Regions from separate parts of the Homo sapiens genome. Here region 1 is linked to region 2. Evidence: promoter capture Hi-C in human tissues and cell types (Jung and others, 2019). All regions are on one chromosome and are shown on one strand. The core of a region is centred on a gene start or on the middle of the fragment in contact, and the rest is flanking DNA. Distances in the headings are between cores, read along the strand shown. Region 1 holds the start of IPO13 (importin 13). Region 2 overlaps ST3GAL3 (ST3 beta-galactoside alpha-2,3-sialyltransferase 3).

Region 1 (4,464 bases), core at 1,002-3,501, 48 kb before region 2:
CTTACAGCAAAACATTATGGGTTCAGAGAGGGAATCTCCACAGGAAAGCAAAAAAGAGGAGGCTGATCTCCCCAAAGGGGAGGCACTTGAGGGCAAGGCCCAGGTGGAAGGAACAGCTTCACAGGGATGAAGCTAAGTCTGAGAAGGGCATGGAACAGCTTGAGGGGACTTGACCCTCCCAGGCACAGCTGCTCCCATCAACTCCAACAGCTCCTTTCAGCTCCCCCAGGATCATCCCTAGGTCAGTCCAGATGCTGGCACCAAAGCCAGTGTGAAATCAGAGCAGGACTAAGACTTTTGCCAGGCAGCCCTGGGGCAGACATGCTGGAGGAGAGGGTGAGAACACTCCTCAGAGGGCACATGTCCAACCAATTGATCCAGAGAAGCCTTGGCCATAGCTGCAGCCCTGGCAAACACCTAGCTTAGTGCTCTCCACTAGCAGAATCCCCGGGGTCTCAATTCCAACGGGACTTTATGAAGTAAGAAAACAGTGAGATTTATCTCCCAATAGCACATGGAACAGTGCGCCACCATGCCAACACTGCCCTGCTCCAAGGGGCGGAAGAGTATGGCCAGGACCCTGACCCCTAAGCAGGCTCCATCCAAGTAAGCTTAGCTCTATTTGTACCCCTGACAGCCAGTTATGGCCATTGGCCCTTGTTTGGCCCCTCAGGGACGCCAAAGCAGGCAGAAGAGATGCATCCTCATTGTTTGTTATGGCAAACGGGGGTTAAGGATAACAAGTGAACATCATTCCCTGCTTTCAAGTAAGGGAGCCCCATCTCCCCATTCATCCCAGGGTGCATGCATTCCTGCATTTCAAGTTGTAGGGAGCAGATACAGAAAAGAACCAAAGAGGCAGTTCAGAAAGATGGGCTGGGCAGTCGGGGAGCCTGGGAGGGCCATGGCAGGGAGCTATGTGGGCAGGCGAGTAGGGAGGAGCCCTGTAAGGCTCCCAGCAGGGCCAGGACCCTTGGACTCAGCACAAAACAAAGGGAGACAGCCCCAGGCCTGCCTGCTCAGGACTGGTCTGGCTTCCATCCAATAAAGGAAGGACCCTTCTCCAAAGAGTCAAAACAACCCAGATTGTTTTAGTTCCAGATTATTTTCTGAGCCCTTGGCTCAACAAAACCAGGTCCAGGATGGTTTGGCATCAGTATAATTCCAGGAGACTGAGCTGCAGGTCTCCTGGGTTCCCAGTTTCCTACTGCACTGCTCATGCAGTTCCCATGGAGCTGGAACATAGCCAGTCTGGACGGAAGGCTAAGTCACAGCACCCTGAAGGGACCATCCCAAGACCCTAGAGTATCTATCCACAGGGGACCTGCCTGTAAGGAAAGACAAAAATAGCCCATTAGGGCACTGCAATACTGCCTGCCCAGAAAGAGAGCAAATGCCAGGTGCTCTGGGGGCACCATACCAGCGGGCACCCAGCCCAGGCCTGAGCTCTGCCATCAGTGACAGTCCCCAGAACTTCTGCTCTGTCACTGGAGTGCCCACCCCAGAGCCCTCATACCTTCTCCACGTTCTCCACAGTGAAGTCCAAGGCTGGTGCTGCTCCAGCCCCTGCAGCCCCCGGCTGCTCCTCCCGCCGCTCCATCTTTGCTCCCTCCCTGGCAGGGAGGTGGGCCCTGATCTGTCTCCTGCCCCAGCCCCTTGGCTGCTGGCCCCCTGCTAGACCCCGGCTTGGGTGCCCAGGGAGTGGTGGGGTGAGGGGGGGCCCAGGGCGGGCATGGCTGCCGAGGCCTCCCCACCTCGTTTGGGGGTGGGAGGCTTGCCAGAGACCAAAATTGGTGCTCTTAGGAGACCCAATGAAGGGGACTCCGAGGAGGGAGCCGTCAGTGAGGAGCTCTCAGGCGGGGATCCTAGTGGCAGGTAACAGCTCTGTCCCCAGAATCTGTGTGGAGGGAGTCACAGGGGAGGGAGGCCTGCGGGGGAAACCGAGTCCCTGGCTCTTGAGGGGTCACAGGGTCGATGGCCTGTACCCACAACACCCCCGCCTGGGTGAGCTCTCGGCTGCTATGAACAGGTCATGGGGCTGGAGGGTCACGGGAGAGAGAGAGCCCTTCGTGGTTACGGAGGCGTCCAACGAAGCGCGGAGATGCAGCTCCGCTAGTCTAGGGCGAAGAGTCCGTGGAGTTGAGGGGCTGTGGCAGGTCCCTTCCGTTCGGCCTGGCCCGCGCTGTGCTCAACGCCCGGCTACAGCCCCGCTACAGCCGCTGCCTCCGCCCCAGTGACTGACAAGACAAGCCAGGCCGGCCGGGACGGGGCAGGGACCTCGGCAAGGCGCGGGCTGCCCCGAGCGCCTGTCCCCGGCACCTCCAACTCAGGCCCCCACTCCTGCCAGTTCTGGCTCGGCACGGCCCGGTACAGGCCGGCACGGCCCAGCGGAACTGCGCGGAAACTCATTCCGGGTCCTTAGCCCTGTCCTCGCGCCAGCTCGCACTCCCCTGAGCAGGCGGTGGAGCGGCTCGCCGCCCCAGGCCGCGGCCGAGTCTAGGCCCCGCCGCTGTTCACCCTGGGAAATGTAGTCCGTGTTGCGCCTAGCCGGAAGGCGGCGCCCTGCGGAGGAGGCCGGGAGCACGTGGGTTGGGGACCTGCAGAGCCCCGCCTGTCCTCGGCCTACCGCGGCGAGCAGGCATTCCGGGTCAGACCGGCGCGGGGCGCTGCGGCCCAACTCCTTAGTAGGACGACGTGACTCGAGGGGCCGGAGGACGGAGGTGGGAGCCCGGGCTAGAGGGTGGAGGCTGGGGAGGTTGCCTGGTCACTCTGGCGCTCCGCTGCCGGGGGCATCCTCCGGCCCAGCAAAGGTGCAGCCTGGGAAGAAGGCGTCAGCACCACCCAGAGAAGAGGAGAGGGGACTTGGCACGCCTCAGGAAGGAAAAAAGGAAGGCTCTCGGGACCACCCAATAAGCAACCGGGAAACCACATACCATGGACAGTGCTCGGGGAATTTCGTAAGGTTTTTGGAAGTAACTTTATGTGTAACTAGAGTAAGAGTAGCTTACATTTAAGTGCTAGGAGCAGGACTTTGCTTACCTTAGGTTCAGTTTTCTTAATAGCTCTGAGGTGGATATTTTTATTCATCATTTTCAGATGAGATGAGGAAATCGAGCTTGGGGAAAGTTAGGCTTATCTTGCCCCTGGCACACAGACAGGGTGGCAGACCATGCCATAGATCTGGTCTGCCACAGGCCCCGGTAGTTCCTGCCTGTCACCCCTCCAGTTGTATTTTATTGTTTATTAACTCCTGCCAGCTACCCTAGCAGGGAAGAGGAAAAAATTAAAAGTGCAAAGAGCTCCGTAGTTTTGTTCAAATGGAGGAAGCTGGCATTGGAAGCTGGCATTGGCAGCAGCTGCTGAGGCCTGAGAAGGTCCATGAAGGCTTCCCTGAGAAGAGAAACTTGATCTGAGCTTGAAGAATAGAGAGCCTGGGAAGGAGAGGGGCCCATTTAGCTGGTAAGCAAAATCCAGTAGGACTCTAAGTCATTCAGCAAGTCTTCATCAATAAAGAATAGCAAGTAGGCCGGGCGCGGTGGCTCACGCCTGTAATCCCAGCACTATGGGAGGCTGAGGCGGGCGGATCACGAGGTCAGGAGATCGAGACCATCCTGGCTAACACGGTGAAACCCCGTCTCTACTAAAAATACAAAAAATTAGCCGGGCATGGTGGCAGGCACCTGTAGTCCCAGCTATTCGGGAGGCTGAGGCAGGAGAATGGCTTGAACACGGGAGGTGGAGCTTGCAGTGAGCTGAGATCACGCCACTGCACTCCAGCCTGGGCGACAGAGTGAGACTCCGTCTAAAAAAAAAAAAGAAAAGAAAAGAAAGAATAGTAAGTAATTTATATTCATTTTAAGAGAATATATGTGGGGTGGGGAAGGGGAAGGGTATGAGTAACAGAGATGAGGTTGGAAAGACAAGTTGGTGGCAATAGATTCTTGTAGGAGTTTGGACATTATCCTAAGTGCAATATGAAACCATGATGGGGTTTCAAGTGAGCAATGATGATTACATTTGCATTTTAGAAAAATCTGCAACATGAAAGACAAATTGAAGGAAGAAAGAGAGGCAGGAGACATTTGGAAGGAGGAAATAGAAAGCCAAAATAAAGTAACTGATTCCAGGCCTGTGCCTAGGGTGTGAAATACCTTGGGCCTGGTGCTGGCTGGCGGTTTCACTGGTGGAGGTGGTGGTGGGCAGGGGAGATGGTGTTGGGAGTGGGGTTTAAATGCACAAATTCTGGACTTAGTCCTGAGTTCAAAACCTGTTTATGCCTCTTTCTAGCAATGAGACCTTAGCTTCTTCTGAAACTCATTTTAGTTAAGGGGTTTTAGGGGTGGGGGGCTCAGCCCAGAGACCACAACTTAGTCAGTATGTGTTTTCTTCCTGCTTCCCATCCAGGGCTCCTCCTCATCCCTGGAGGTTCCAGGGATCTGGCAGAGAAAGAAGCCCAGTCTCACA
Region 2 (4,273 bases), core at 1,363-3,862:
TCCTCAGCTTCCTGGGAAAAGCAAGGCCCTGCTGTCTGCTTCCTGAGTAGCCTGAGTATAGTGAGTTCTCCGACTCTAGCTGGCTTCCTTCCTTTTCTTCTTTCTTTCCTTACTCCCTTGGATGAATTTTAAGAACCTTGAATTAACTGACATTGGTGTTCTTGGAAGGAACATGTGATAACACCCATGACAGGCTCTGACCCACCCCTTTGGCCTGGCCTTATTTGAACTGCCTGGCTTTTCCCAGTCTGTCCAGTGGGAAGTAGGAACTGGTGTTTGAGCCAATTCCAGATCATTTATGGTGACTGAGCACTGAAGGGTAAAAACCAATGGGATCAAGCTCTGCCCCTTAGGAGCTCTTGCCCTGAGGGAGGCTGTGACAGGTGCCCATGGGCAGAGGAAACGATGTGAAAGGAGGATGGCAGAAGGCCAGAGTGAGACAGCAGCCCTTAGGCTCACTGGGGTTCACCAGGACAGACTCTATTTCCTACCATTCTCCCTTAAAAGTGTCTATCTGTGACCCTAATTCTACTGCCCTCAAGGCAAAGAGAGGGACTCTGAAAACACTAGTGTCTCAGTCCCCAGGGTTCTGAAAACAGTAGGGTACTCCTGGAACCGCTGTTATTTACCTGGTCTGTGTGGGCAGTGGGCCTGCTTGAAGTTGGGCCTGGCTAAGGCCAAATCATCACTCTGCTGCCTGGCCCTTTCCTCCCCTTTGGGGAGGTGGACTGGACACTGTGGAGCCCAGGTGTCTCATCCAGTCTGGTTCTGAAATGGATTCCCCTTCCCCACTGTCCCACCTACCTGAATTTCTGGACCTGACTTCTGTCTTCTCTCTTGCTTGCTACCTACTTGACACTGCCTGTACTTGGCCTTGCTTGGGAAAGAGCTGTGGAGTTAAACCAAATTGCACTGAGACCCTAAAGGCAAAGGAAGCTGTTCCCACTCCCAACTCTTCTCTAAACCTCTGGAAAGAACAATCAGCTTCTCACTGTAGGCAGAGGGCCGTCTGTCACCATCCTCCTCTAGCAAGAGGCTTGGGTATTAGAAGATGAATGGCCTGAGCTCTGCAGTACCCCACCCCTGGGGCTGCTGGTGACAGCTGGTTGTGGGGGAGTGGGCCTGGACAAGTTCACGGATGTCCCTGTAGGCCCAGAGCTGGGAAGTAGAGGTCTCGGGAGGGAACTCAGTGGTGGTCTCCTAAAGAGCAGTTGACCTTACTCTGCCACATAAGCTCCCTAAAGAAATGGGCCCAGACCCTTACCTGCTTAGAACAGTCAGTAGAACCTGATCATTCCCAATGATCAGACTCAGTGGCAGGTTGGGAATTCAACTATAAGTCAGTGGTAAAAGTACAAAGTGGAAACAGGCCAGGACTTCTAAGTTTGGGAGCTGGCACTCTCAAGTTGAGGGGTCTGCTGTCCCTGCAGAACCCAGGCTGAGAAAGAGGGCAGGGACCCCTAAGACCAGAGCCAGAGAGACCTTACAGAGGAGAAGAGGGTGCAAGGGAGGCAGCTACAAGGTCAGGGCAGGAAAGTAGAAAGATTGGGAGTGATACGAAGGCTGGCCTGAGAGACAGAGCTTCCCTTGGCCAGGAGATCTAAGGCCAGGGAAGGGCCCCTGGGGCTGCTGGGGTCTGGCTACAGAAGGCTGAGAAAGGATCTGCACCTGGGCACCTGGAAGCAGGTAGCAGGTTTCAGGCATATTGGCTCCTGGAGTTTGGCCAGTAACCCGGGCAATCTCCTGACCTCTTTGCCCCCTGGTTGCCATTGGGTGATTTCGGCTTTGGGTCATTAATGTTTCCTTTGAAGGTTCTTACTCGTTCTTTGCTGCATTCAAGGGGCGGGATTGCTTAGGAGTTGCGGAAGCCCAGGGCAAGAGGGGAAGAAGCTGGTGCCAGGAGAGCTTACCACTCTCTCCTTGTAGACGATGTATTTCAACCACTTAAAGTCCTGCCACTTGAAGCCGGCGAGGACAAAGAGAGAATCGCGCTCGTACTGCTCAGGCCGCTGCATGGCGCCCTCGGGGTAGGTGATGCGCAGTGTCGTTTTGCTGCCCACGTCCTTCTCAAAGCCTTTCACTGGTGCTGAATTCAGTCTACAGAGAGCAGGCCCACTCAGAGCCTGGGCCTGTGTTTGGGAAGGCACCATGACCCCAGACTATCCCAGGCATGGAGAATAGGGAGTCCAGGTCACCTGGACCTATTCTCCCCAGGTGCCCCCGCTAGTTGTCTGTTCCAAAGCCCTCCAACCCAGAGTTCTTGAGGCTTCCGTTGACCTCCAGCCCAACTAGCCAGACAGACAGTTCTCAATGGGCTCAGGACTAAGGGTTGGGGCCACGACACTCACCCGAGGTGCCATTTTGGGGAGCTCACCTCACCACAATGTCATAGTCGTCAATTCGTGACCCCAGAGACTTGTTGGCAAGAACGCCTCCATTGCCCACGATGATGCAGCGGCGGCAGCGGAGGCTGAGGGGAGAGAGGCGGAGACCTCTGTACAGAGAGCTGCCCACCAGGTCTCTTTCCCTGCTCCTTTGGCCCTTGACCCCACGCCCTTGTCCAGGACCAGGCTGGGATAGAGGAAGAAGACCAATGGGCTTCTGGCAGCATTTCTGAGAGAAGGCCTGAACCATACAATGGGTAGCTGGGCCCTGAGACTCTCCAGCATCTCTATCTAGGCCCTGACACTTCCCCAGGAAAACAGGGCCATGGAAAGGCTTGGGTGCCAGGCGTGGGTGGTGAGGAGGGAGCTTTGGTAAGATGACATTCTAGGGTAAAGGTTCCCCAAGGGGTAGTGGTGTTTAGGCAGGCTTCAGGGGAGAGGGAAAAGTGGGCCGAGCTTGGGGCTATACCAGGAAAGCAAGAAAAGGGGAACGGGACAGGAGGCTCTAGGACTCAAGGCTCCCAGCAGCCACTAGAGAGCTTACCCATCTTGCTTCTCCCATCCCTGACCCTGGGGCTTCCTGCTCTAGGGTCTGTTGGTTTGGGAGCTGTCACTGCCTTCTGGACTTAAGCCTTGCCCCCTTCACCTGCCCCCGCCACCCAGGCCCTCAGTCCCATTGCTGGGCTAGTCCCAGCCCCAGTGTGTTCAGTTCTTACCCTCAAACCTCTGGTATCTGAGGACTGGGATGTCCTGCCAAGTGCTGACAGCCCGTGGGGGTGCAAGTCAGGTGGAGTGGTTCCACTTACCTGCTCCACCCACCCTGTGTGTGTACTGTATGTGCATGTGTGGATGTGCTGGAGAAACTGCCCATGTCCAGGGAAGGCCAGCTGGGCCTCAACACCTCTGCACACCACCAGGCAGCGGTGGGTAGGAGGCTGCACAGTGTGTGGCTCACCTGTCCAAGGCAGGGGTCAGGCGGTACTCTTTGGTGACTGACAAGATGGCTTTGATCAGATTGTCTGCAGACAGAGGAGAGAGGTTTCTGTTACAGGGTCACTTACCTTTCTATAAAATGTTTACTGATAATCCTACTGGAAGACACAAGTCCCTAGGGGCTAGAGTGAAAGTGGAAGTGGAGAGAGCTCTGGACACAAGGATGTATTGGGCCACTGCCCTGACTTTCTTCCTGAGAAAGGAGGTGATGGCAGGAAACAGACAGGCATATCACTGCCGGGAGCCCGTCCCTAACACTGGCACGCAGCTTCTCTCCCAGGCTTCTGGGAGGCTCATCTGGTTTTCTGAGGCTCTGTAGTCAGGCCCCAGGACATGCATTCCCAGGCCAGGGCCTTCCCTGGAAGCTGGCGCACGCAGTCTCCCTGGAATGGGAGTACCTGCTCAGAGCTAGAGACCACCTTGTACTTATCTCTGTGCTCCCACCCAGCAGATACCAGGAAACAAATGAGGAGACACCCAGCAACTGAAGAGCTCACCACGTGCCTCATTATCTGACATCACCTTTCCCTCACTTCCTCCCTCTCACATTGCCAATCCTGAATCCTGCTCTTTGCCAGGCTGTCTTTACCTCCTCACCTCTTTACTCCCTGAGCCTGGCTCTGCCCACCTGCACTCCATTCAGCAAAGACCCCCATGACTTCTGTGCTCTCAGACCTGTGCCCACTATTTAGACCTCATCTCCTTGGCCTCTCTCTGGCTTTGGCAATAAGGACTGCTCTTCCAAACTCTGGTATCATGAGAGCACTATAATATGATGTATAGTGAATAGCAAGGGTATTGGCTTTGGAGTCAAATACTGGCTGTGCTCTGTGACCTTATATAAATCATTTCCTTTCTTTGAGCTTTAGTTTCCTCATCTCTAAAATGAAAGTAAT

What was found. Contacts are between HindIII fragments. The study calls those that stand out against the background at their distance.
Region 1: a contact is called between the fragment with the promoter of IPO13 here and a fragment that was not itself captured in region 2, in 2 of the 25 tissues and cell types used here (mesenchymal stem cells and pancreas).

Annotation. Positions count from the first base shown.
Region 1 is chr1:43,944,737-43,949,200 of GRCh38, reverse strand. IPO13 (importin 13) reads right to left here and starts at 2,251. Exons shown (of 20, transcript NM_014652.4): 1 at 1,517-2,251. The coding sequence starts at 1,600. LOC101929609 (a long non-coding RNA gene) reads left to right here and starts at 2,602. Exons shown (of 2, transcript NR_188535.1): 1 at 2,602-2,720; 2 at 4,405-4,464. RefSeq lists a silencer at 2,206-2,455. The HindIII fragment of the contact is 10,546 bases long and covers 1-4,464 here.
Region 2 is chr1:43,897,365-43,901,637 of GRCh38, reverse strand. It overlaps ST3GAL3 (ST3 beta-galactoside alpha-2,3-sialyltransferase 3), which reads right to left. Exons shown (of 12, transcript NM_006279.5): 7 at 3,340-3,403; 8 at 2,375-2,470; 9 at 1,911-2,097. Among named protein-coding and RNA genes, the nearest start is that of ARTN, 34 kb to the left of the region's middle. RefSeq lists an enhancer at 1,097-1,955. The HindIII fragment of the contact is 8,839 bases long and covers 1-4,273 here.